Regions from separate parts of the Homo sapiens genome. Here regions 1 and 3 are each linked to region 2. Evidence: promoter capture Hi-C in human tissues and cell types (Jung and others, 2019). All regions are on one chromosome and are shown on one strand. Each heading gives the region's core, a stretch centred on a gene start or on the middle of the fragment in contact. The rest is flanking DNA. Distances are from core to core; before and after follow the strand shown. Region 1 has its middle 17 kb from the start of CYP11B1. Region 2 holds the start of CYP11B2 (cytochrome P450 family 11 subfamily B member 2). Region 3 has its middle 46 kb from the start of CYP11B2.

Evidence for each region. The method cuts DNA at HindIII sites, captures the fragments that hold promoters and counts their contacts. A contact is called where the count stands out against the background at its distance.
Region 1: a contact is called between a fragment that was not itself captured here and the fragment with the promoter of CYP11B2 in region 2, in 1 of the 25 tissues and cell types used here (IMR-90 fibroblasts).
Region 3: a fragment that was not itself captured here is called in contact with the fragment with the promoter of CYP11B2 in region 2 in 5 of the 25 tissues and cell types used here (dorsolateral prefrontal cortex, lymphoblastoid cells, mesendoderm cells and 2 more).

What each region holds. Positions count from the first base shown.
Region 1 is chr8:142,860,749-142,863,920 of GRCh38, forward strand. No RefSeq gene overlaps it. Among named protein-coding and RNA genes, the nearest start is that of CYP11B1, 17 kb to the right of the region's middle. The HindIII fragment of the contact is 3,293 bases long and covers 206-3,172 here.
Region 2 is chr8:142,916,471-142,919,448 of GRCh38, forward strand. CYP11B2 (cytochrome P450 family 11 subfamily B member 2) reads right to left here and starts at 1,373. Exons shown (of 9, transcript NM_000498.3): 1 at 1,132-1,373; 2 at 589-744. The coding sequence starts at 1,370. RefSeq lists a promoter at 1,372-2,978 and an enhancer at 2,379-2,660. The HindIII fragment of the contact is 14,293 bases long and covers 1-2,978 here.
Region 3 is chr8:142,962,779-142,965,901 of GRCh38, forward strand. No RefSeq gene overlaps it. Among named protein-coding and RNA genes, the nearest start is that of CYP11B2, 46 kb to the left of the region's middle. The HindIII fragment of the contact is 3,160 bases long and covers 162-3,123 here.

The sequences.
Region 1 (3,172 bases), core at 602-3,101, 55 kb before region 2:
TTGTTTATTTTTGTCAATTTTGTCAAAAATTAGTTGGTTGTAGGTATGTGGCTTTATTTCTAGGTTCTCTATTCTTTTTAATTGATCTATGTGTCGATTTTTGTACTAGTTCCATGCTGTTTGGTCACTATAGTCTTGTAGCACAATTTGAGGTCAGGCAATATGATGCCTCCAGATTTTTCCTTTCTGCTTAGGATTGCTTTGGCTATTTGGGCTTTTTGTTGTTGTTCCATATGAACTATAGAATTTTTTTTCTAATTTTGTAAAAAATGGCATTGGTAATTTGATAAGAATTGTGTTGAATCTACAGATTGCTTTGGGCAATAGGGTCATTTTAACGATGTTGGTTCTTCCAATGCATGAGCATGAAATGTTTTACCATTTGTTTGTGTCACTTATGATTTCTTTCATTAGTGTTCTGTAGTTCTCCTTGTAGAAATCTTTCACCTCCTTGGTTAAATGTATTCCTAGGTTGTGTGTGTGTGTGGTCTATTGTAAACGGGACTGAGTTCTTGAATTGGTTCCCAGCTTAAATGTTATTAGTGTATAAAAATGCTACTGATTTTTGTATGTTGATTTTGTATCTTGAAACTTTACAGAAGTTGTTTATCAAGTTGGGAGTCTTTTGGAGGAGTCTTTAGGGCTTTCTAGGTATGTGACTGTGTAATTGGTGAACAGAGATAATTTGACTTCCTGTTTTCTTTTTTCTTTCTTTCTCTTGCCTGATTGTTCTGGCTAGGACTTTCAGTATTATGTTGAATAGGAGTGGTGGAACAAGGAATGGACATCCATTCCAAGAAGTGGAACAAGGAATGGACATCCTCGTTCCAATTCTTAAGGGAAATGCTTTCAACCTTTCCCCATTCAGTATGATGTCTAGTGGCTGTGGATTCATCATATATATTCCCCGTTCAGTGGCTGTGGGTTTGTCATATATGGCTGTTATTATTTTGAGGTATTTTTAAATGCCTAGTTTGTTGACAGTTTTTATCATGAAGGGATATTGGCTTTTAACAAATGATTTTTTCTGCATGTATTGAGATAATCATATGTTTTGTGTTCTTAGTTCTGTTTATGTGGTGAATCACATTGATTGATTTGCATATGTTGAGCCATCATTGCATCCCTGGAATAGAGGGATGAATTATCTTTTTGATGTGCTGTTGGATTCAGTTTGCTAGTATTTTGTTGAGGATTTTGGCTTCTGCGTTGAGTGATATTGGCCTGTAGTTTTCTTTGTTGCGTGCTTGCCTGATTCCTCCCTAACTCATTCTATGACACCAAAATTCAACAGTGCATCAAAAAGACAATTCATCACAATTAAGTGGACTTTATTCCAGGGATGGAAGAATGGCTCAACACACACAAATCAATAAATGTGACTCACCACGTAAACAGAACTAAGAATGAAAACCATGTGATCATCTCAACAGATGCAGAAAAAGCATTCCATAAAATCTCTCCTTCTAGATTGTTTGGAATAGTTTCAGTAACTTTGGTCCTAGCTCTTCTTTGTACATCTGGTAATATTTCGCTGTGAATATGCCTGGTGCTGGGCTTTTTTGTTGTTGTTGGAAGATTTTTTTAATATGAGTTCAATTTTATTACTCCTTATTGGTCTGTTCAGTAGTTCTATTTCTTTCTGGTTTAATCTTGGGAGGTTGTATGTTTCTAGGAATTTATCCATTTCCTCTACATTTTCTAGTTTGTGTGCATAGAGGTATTCAAAGTACTCTCTGATGATCTTTTGGTTTTTATGTGGTATCAATGGTAATGTCAGCTTTATCATTTCTGATTATGCTTATTTGAATCTTCTTTTTTTCTTGGTTAGTCTAGCTAGTGGTCATTAATTTTGTTTATCATTTCAAAGAACCAACTTTTCATTTCACTGATCCTGTCTGTCATCCTGTTTGGTCTCAGTCTCACTTAATTCTGCTCTGATTCTTGTTATTTCTTCTCTTCTGCTAGATTTCGGTTTGGGCAAGCAGCTGGGAGAGCTGCAGAAAAGAGCTAGGTAGATCCTGCACCCAGTGTGCCTGGGCAGCCCCTTAGAAGTGTTCTCACACTCAGACTCTCTTGTTCTAGTTCCTTGAGGTGTGATGTTAGAATGCTAATTCGAGATCTTTCTTTCTTTTCAATGTAGGTGTTTAATTCTATAAAGTTTCATCATAGCTCTGTTTTTGCTGTACCACAGAGGTTTTGATGTGTTTTATCTCTACTTTCATTTGTTTCAAAGAATTGTTTTATTTCTTAATTTTATTGTTTACCCAAGAATCATTCTTGAACAAGTTGTTTAGTTTCCATGTACTTATGTAGTTTTGAGAGTTCCTCTGGATATTGATTTCTAATTTTATTCCACTGTGTTCTGAGGATACTTGATACGATTTTTTTAATGTTGAGACTTGCTTCATGGCCAAGCATGTGGTCGATTTTGGAGAATATTCCATGCATAGACGAGAATGTATATTCTGTGGTTATTGGGTAGAATGTTCTGCTAATATCTATTAGGTTCATTTAGTCTATAGTCCAATTCAAGTCCAGTGTTTCTTGATTTTCTGCCTCAATGATCTGTCCAGTGGTGTCAATGAGGTGTTGAAGTCCCCACTATTATTGCATTGCTATCAACCTGTTTTCTTAGGTCTACTAGTATTTCTTGCATGAATCTGGGTGATCTGGTGTTGGGTACATATATATTTAGAAGAGTTAAATCTTCTTGTTGTATTCAACCCTTTGTCTTACATAATACCCTTCTTTGACTTTTTTTTTTAACTGTTTTTGGTTTAAAGTTTGTTTTATCTGATATGAGAATGGCTATTCCCACTTGCTTTTGCTTTTCATTTGCATGACATATCTTTCTCTACCTTTTAACTTTGAGTGTGAAGGTGTCTTTAGCCAGTAGGTGGGTCTCTTGTAGGCAGCAAATGATTGGGTCTTATTTTTTTCATCCAATTTGCCACTCTTTATCTTTTAAGTGGAGCACTTAGGCCATTTACATTCAAGGTTAATATTGGTATGTGAGGTTTTGTTCCTATCATAGTGTTGTTAGGTAGTTGTGTTGGAGTTTAAATTGTGTAATTGCTCTATAGGATCTGTAAACTTTGCACTCATGTGTCCTTCTATGATGGCAAGTATTGTCCTTCTGTCTCCATGTTTAGAACTCCTTTGAGTATTT
Region 2 (2,978 bases), core at 123-2,622:
TCCACGGGCCAGGAAACATCCTCCCCAGTGCCATCAACCGCCCCACCTTGTGCCTTGCTTCTGAGAACAACGGAACCACCAGCCACCTGCGTCCCCACCTGCCTCCTGCCCCGGACTGTCCCCATCAGGAAGGTTTGCCAGGACTGCAGGGACCCTGAGCGCCCTGAGGGAGGCTGTGGCCCCGGCGAACACCAGGCTCAGCACTCAGCCTGTGACCTGGGCCAGTGGAAGTCCCCTTCTCAGGGCCTCAGTTTTCTGACCTATGGGAAGGACAGTCCCCAGACCGCAAGAGAAAGCAGCCGCCGAGGTTGGTGCAGAGCGGGTTCTCACTACACAGAAGGGCTCATTGCTCTGCGTCTTCTCTGCAGAGGTGCCCGTGCCCATTTCTCCACCACCGCCCTGCTTCCCCAACCCACAGTGCAGACGCGACCCCACAGGATGGCCGTCCTCTGGGCCGGGTGCTCACCCTCACTGCCCACCACAGGGGCCCAGGGCAGATGTGCTTTTGGGTCCTACCTCTCTCGCCTCCCCCCTACACCCAGGCTGCCCACCCTGCTCCCAGCTCTCAGCTCCCAACTCGCCGCTTACAACAAGAACACGCCACATTTGTGCCCACGATGTTGTCTGTAGGCCACCCAGGGCTCCAGGATCATCCTGCAGGGATGCAGGCTGTCCACCTGTTGCAGCTTCTCCACATCCTCCGGCAGCATCACACACACCATGCGTGGTCCTCCCAAGTTGTACCTGTGGGGCCAAGCAGGAGGCCCTGCTGGACGGGGTCATGTCCCTCGTGGCCCCACCCTGCAGTCCCAATCCAAAGTGTCTCCTGTCCACCCTCCCTGCTCCTGGATTAGCGGCTTCACAGCTAAAGCCCTCCTGCTGGCTCCCTGGAACCTTTCAACTTTAGTGCTTCTGAGTCCTGCCCTCTCTGCAGTGAGCTGGGGTTTTCTCTGCACTATCCCCTGCCCTGGCAGCACCACAGACCAGCATGTGCTGCACTCCTTCCCCATCCTCCAAAGGATGCAGAGTGCCGGGACCTGCTGGGAATGGCAGTGCTGAGTGCCTGGCAGGGTCCTGGGCAGCAGGGGCAGGGATCTGGGTGTTCCCAGCGAGGGCCAGGGAGGGCTTTACCTGAAAATGGGCCCCAGCTCCTGGAAGGTCTGGTGCATCTCCAGGTGCAGGTGCTCATAACCCTGCTCCCTCCAGATCTGCAGCAGCCTCAGCCACCTGTTGCCTGGATGCTGGGGCATGGCTTCAAACGGCAGCACCGTCCTAGGGGCCCGAGCGGCTCTAGTGCCCAGTGCCCGTGCCCTTTGCAGGGACAGCCAGGGCGCTGCCACGCACACCTCTGCCTTTGCCCTGAGTGCCATTCCAATGCTCCCTCCACCCTGTTCAGCCCAAATCCTTTTATCTCACCCAGGAACCTGCTCTGGAAACATATCACGTCATGGGAGAACTGGCTCTGGACCTGCCTGAGACTCTCAGAGCGAAGGTCAAGGCTGGAGGCCCCCAGCCAAAGGTAGATGAAGGAGAAGTCAGGTGCCTAATTCCCCATTGCTGCAAGTCCTGCTGGTCTGAGGATGCTGAGAAAAGGCGTGGGGTCTGGACTGGGGGTCCATGCTGGTGGAAGGTGGTGGGACCTGGCCTCTCCTTTCTCCAGGGCTGAGAGGAGTAAAATGGATGGGGACTTTATCTTATCGTGAGATGAGAGGGAGCCTTGGATTCTTTTAATAGACTTTATTTTTATACCACAGATTTAGTTCATTGCAAAATTGATCAAAAACTGCAGAAAATGTCCACGTACCCCCTGCCCTGACACAGGTACACCCTCCACCACAGGAGCGCACTGGTTCCATGTGAGGAATCTCGATACGTTGTTATCAACCAGGGTCCTGGAGTCACATGGGGTCTCCTCCTGGTGGTCAACATGCTGTGGGTTTTGACAAATGTATGTAATTTGTATCCCTCCTTGCAGGATCCTAGGAGTATTTTCACTGTCTTAAAAAGAGGAAAAGAAAACCTGTGCTCTGCCTGCTCATCCCTCCTGCCCCAGTCCCTGACATCTCCGATCTTTTTATCATCACCATGCTTTGGCCTTTTCCAAAATGTTGTATAGTTGGAATGACACCGTTTGTAGCCTTTTCAAAGTGACGTATCTCAGTTAGTAATATGCGTTTAAGGTTCCTCCATTTCTTTTCGTGGCTTGATAGCTAATTTCCTTTTTTTTTTTTTTTTCTAGAGGCTGGGTCTCACTTCTTTAGTGGTTGCCCTAGAGTTTGCAATATACGCTTAAAACTCATCTCTCCAACTCCACCTTCATATAACACTATACAGCTTCAGAGGTAATGCAAGCACTTTATAATCATCAGATATTCTTAGGCTGGGCATAGTGGCTCATGTCTGTCATCCCAGCACTTTGGGAGGCTGATGCAGGTGGATCACCTGAGGTCAGGAGTTCGAGACCAGCCTGGCCAACATGGCAAAACCCTGTCTCTACTAAAAATACAAAATTAGCCAGGTGTGGTGGCGCATGCCTGTAATCTCGGCTTCTCAGCAGGCTGAGTCAAGATGAATGCTTGAATCAAGGAGGCGGAGGTTGCAGTGAGTTGAGATCATCCCACTGCACTCCAACCTGGGCAGCAAAGCAAGACTCCATCTCAAAATAAATAAATAATAAGATATTTTTAATTCCACTCACCCATCCCTTGCATCATTGCTGTCCTTCATTTCACATATACATAACTATGATCATCAAATACACTTTCTGGCTTTTATTTATTTATTTTTATTATTTATTTATTTATTTATTTATTTATTTTTGAGACAGAGTCTCACTCTGTCGCCCAGGCTAGAGTGCAATGGTGTGATCTCGGCTCACTGCGACCTCTGTCTCCCGGGTTCAAGCAATTCTCCCGCCTCAGCCTCCCAAGTAGCTGGGATTACAGGCATGTGCCACCACCACGCCCAGCTAATTTTTG
Region 3 (3,123 bases), core at 492-2,991, 47 kb after region 2:
TGCCTAGGCTGGAGTACAGTGGCGTGATCTCAGCTCACTGCAACCTCCGCCTCCCAGGTTCAAGCAATTCTCCTGCCTCAGCCTCCTGAGTATCTGGGATTAGAGGCATGCACCACCATGCCTCACTAATTTTTTTTTTGTATTTTTTGTACAGGTAGAGTTTCACCATGTTGGACAGTCTGGTCTTGAACTCTTGACCTCAAGTGATCCCCCTGCCTCGGCCTCCCAGAGTGCTGGGATTACAGGTGTGAGCCACCATGCCTGGCCTAACAGGCATTCTTAAATGTAGGTTTTCTAATAACTTTGGAAATTGTAACATCAGAATAGAGGAAAAACTTGCAGGACTCTCATGGAGAGCTAAAATGTTCATAAATATCAAGCAAAACAGGAGTTAACTAAATTCACTAAACCAATAAAAAAACGGAAGTAATCTTTTAAACTTTGCTTAAAACATTGCTGATCCTTTGTTTTGTTTTTCAAAGTCAAGGAAACTTTTCTTTTGAGCTGTTTACAGCTTTTAACAGTTAAGTATGTATCCACCTATAAACAAAATGTGGAGCATATTTGTTTCTCTCTACCTAATTTCTCCAGAATTTGTAAACTAGTTGTGAGTATTCTTAACTTATGGCAATATAGTTATTTGCATAACTATATTTGCAATAAGAAACTGTTTTCTTTTGTAACAGGACACAATGGGAGAAATTGGTGATTTTTGTCAAGGCTTTGCCTGGAATAGTGTGTTTTCCTTTAGGGAATTAAACTTGACTTATAGAGCCAATAAAATCTCTTTAGGGAACTGACCTTATACCTTTCCAAAACAGTCCCTGTGCAGGGTTTCTAACCTGTGGTGAGTAAAGAATGTCACTTTCTGACAGGTCCAGGAGCCCCAGGTTATCTTGGGACATCAAGAGGAAAAAAAATTTACCTAACTCATAGATATACAAAGGTACAAACCCATGGCTGGGCTCAGCTTTAAAAAAGTCTTATCTGAGATTCCTTATGAAACAGAGTTCCATCAAAGCCAATTTAAAAACAGCTTATGTGAAAAATAATTATTCTTGCTGCACTTTATACAAATAATCAGGCCAAATATAATAAAGCAAATCAGTCTTACCATAATTTGTCTTTAGTAAAAATGGAAAACTGGAGAGAGAAATATTATGTTTCAAGAACTATGGTGCACTTGTTGTTAAATTCTAGTCTTATCTGTTGTTTTTAAGTTTGTTTCTGCAATTTAGGCTAACCCTGCTTATTCCTGTGAATCAACCAGTGATCTCTGACTGTTGCTCAGAAGAAACAAGAGGTATTGGGGAACCTGCCCCAATATTCACGTAGGTTCTTTTCTATTTTCCCTAAGCATCAGCCGGCTTGAGAAATAAAGGGACAGAGTACAAAAGAGAGAAATTTTAAAGCTGGGCGTCCGGGGGAGACATCACATATCGGTAGGTTCCGTGATGCCCCACAAGCCGCAAAAACCAGCAAGTTTTTATTAGGGATTTTCAAAAGGGGAGGGAGTGCGCGAATAGGTGTGGGTCACAGACATCAAGTACTTTACACAGTAATAGAATATCACAAGGCAAATGGAGGCAGGGCGAGATCACAGGACCACAGGACCGAGGCAAAATTAAAATTGCTAATGAAGTTTCAGGCACCACTGTCATTGATAACATCTTATCAGGAGACAGGGTTTTGAGAGCAACCGGTCTGACCAAAATTATTAGGTGGGAATTTCCTCTTCCAAATAAGCCTGGGAGTGCTATGGGAGACTGGAGTCTATTTCATCTCTGCAGTTTCAACCATAAGAGACAGGCACACCTGGGGGTGGGGGGGGGCGCCGTTCATAGGCCTATACCTCCAGGTGCATATTCTTTTTCTCAGGGATGTTCCTTGCTGAGAAAAAGAATTCAGTGATATTCCTCCCATTTGCTTTTGAAAGAAGAGAAATATGGCTCTATTCTGCCCAGCTCACTGGCAGTCAGAGTTTAGGGTTATCTCTCTTATTCCCTGAACAATTGTTGTTATCCTGTTCTTTTTTCAAGGTGCCCACATTTCATATTGCTCAAACACACACGCTGTACAATTTGTGCAGTTAATGCAATTATTACAGGGTCCTGAGGCGACATACATCCTCCTCAGCTGACAGGATTAAAAGATTAAAGCAAAGACAGGCATAGGAAATCACTAGGGTATTGATTGGGGAAGTGATAAGTGTCCATGAAATCTTTACAATTTATGTTTAGAGATTGCAGTAAAGGCAGGCATAAGAAATTATAAAAGTATTAGTTTTATAAAAACTAATAAATGTCCATGAAATCTTCACAATCCACGTTCTTCTGCCATGGCTTCAGCCAGTCCCTCCATTTTGGGTCCCTGACTTCCCACAACAAAGAGGGATGGGCAATGTAAAACTCTGAATTGGTATTCTAATTCTGGGCACATGACAATCAGCTAACAACCCCATACCAGCTTAGTTCCAACAGTTGCCCAGTTCATGAAAAGCCTTCTAATTATGTTTACTTGGAATAACTTTACTTATTTTGCTTTACTCTTGGGGAATATATTGCTGTTATACTCTTTGTATAGAAATACAGGACAAGCTTACTGAATGTTTTCTTAAATTAAACACATATTAATCTTCCAGATATCACCTTTCGTCAAAACTCAAGACTTATTAATGGACTTACCACACTGATGCTTTCTGACTGAGCTCCTCTCTACCCTGATTGCAAGAGACCCTCATAGTTAGAGAGGAATATCATCACCCCTATTCAGCCTGAAGAAGTTACAGAAGATGGATCTCCATCCCTCTGCAACCTTTAGGAATAAGTGTTCTCTTATAAAAGGAAGGGGGGAAATATCAGAGGCATGTGAACCAGAGCAACTCCATCTTAAACAGGAACTGGGTCAAATGAGGCTAAAACCTACTGGGCTGCATTCCCAGATGTTTAAGGCATACTAAGTCACAGGATGAGATAGGAGGTCAGCACAAAATACAGGTCACAAAGACTTTGCTGATAAAACAGTTTGCAGTAAAGGAGCCAGCCAAAACCCACCAAAACCAAAATGACCATGAGAGTGACCTCTGGTCATCCTCACTGCTACACTCCCATCAGCGCCATAACA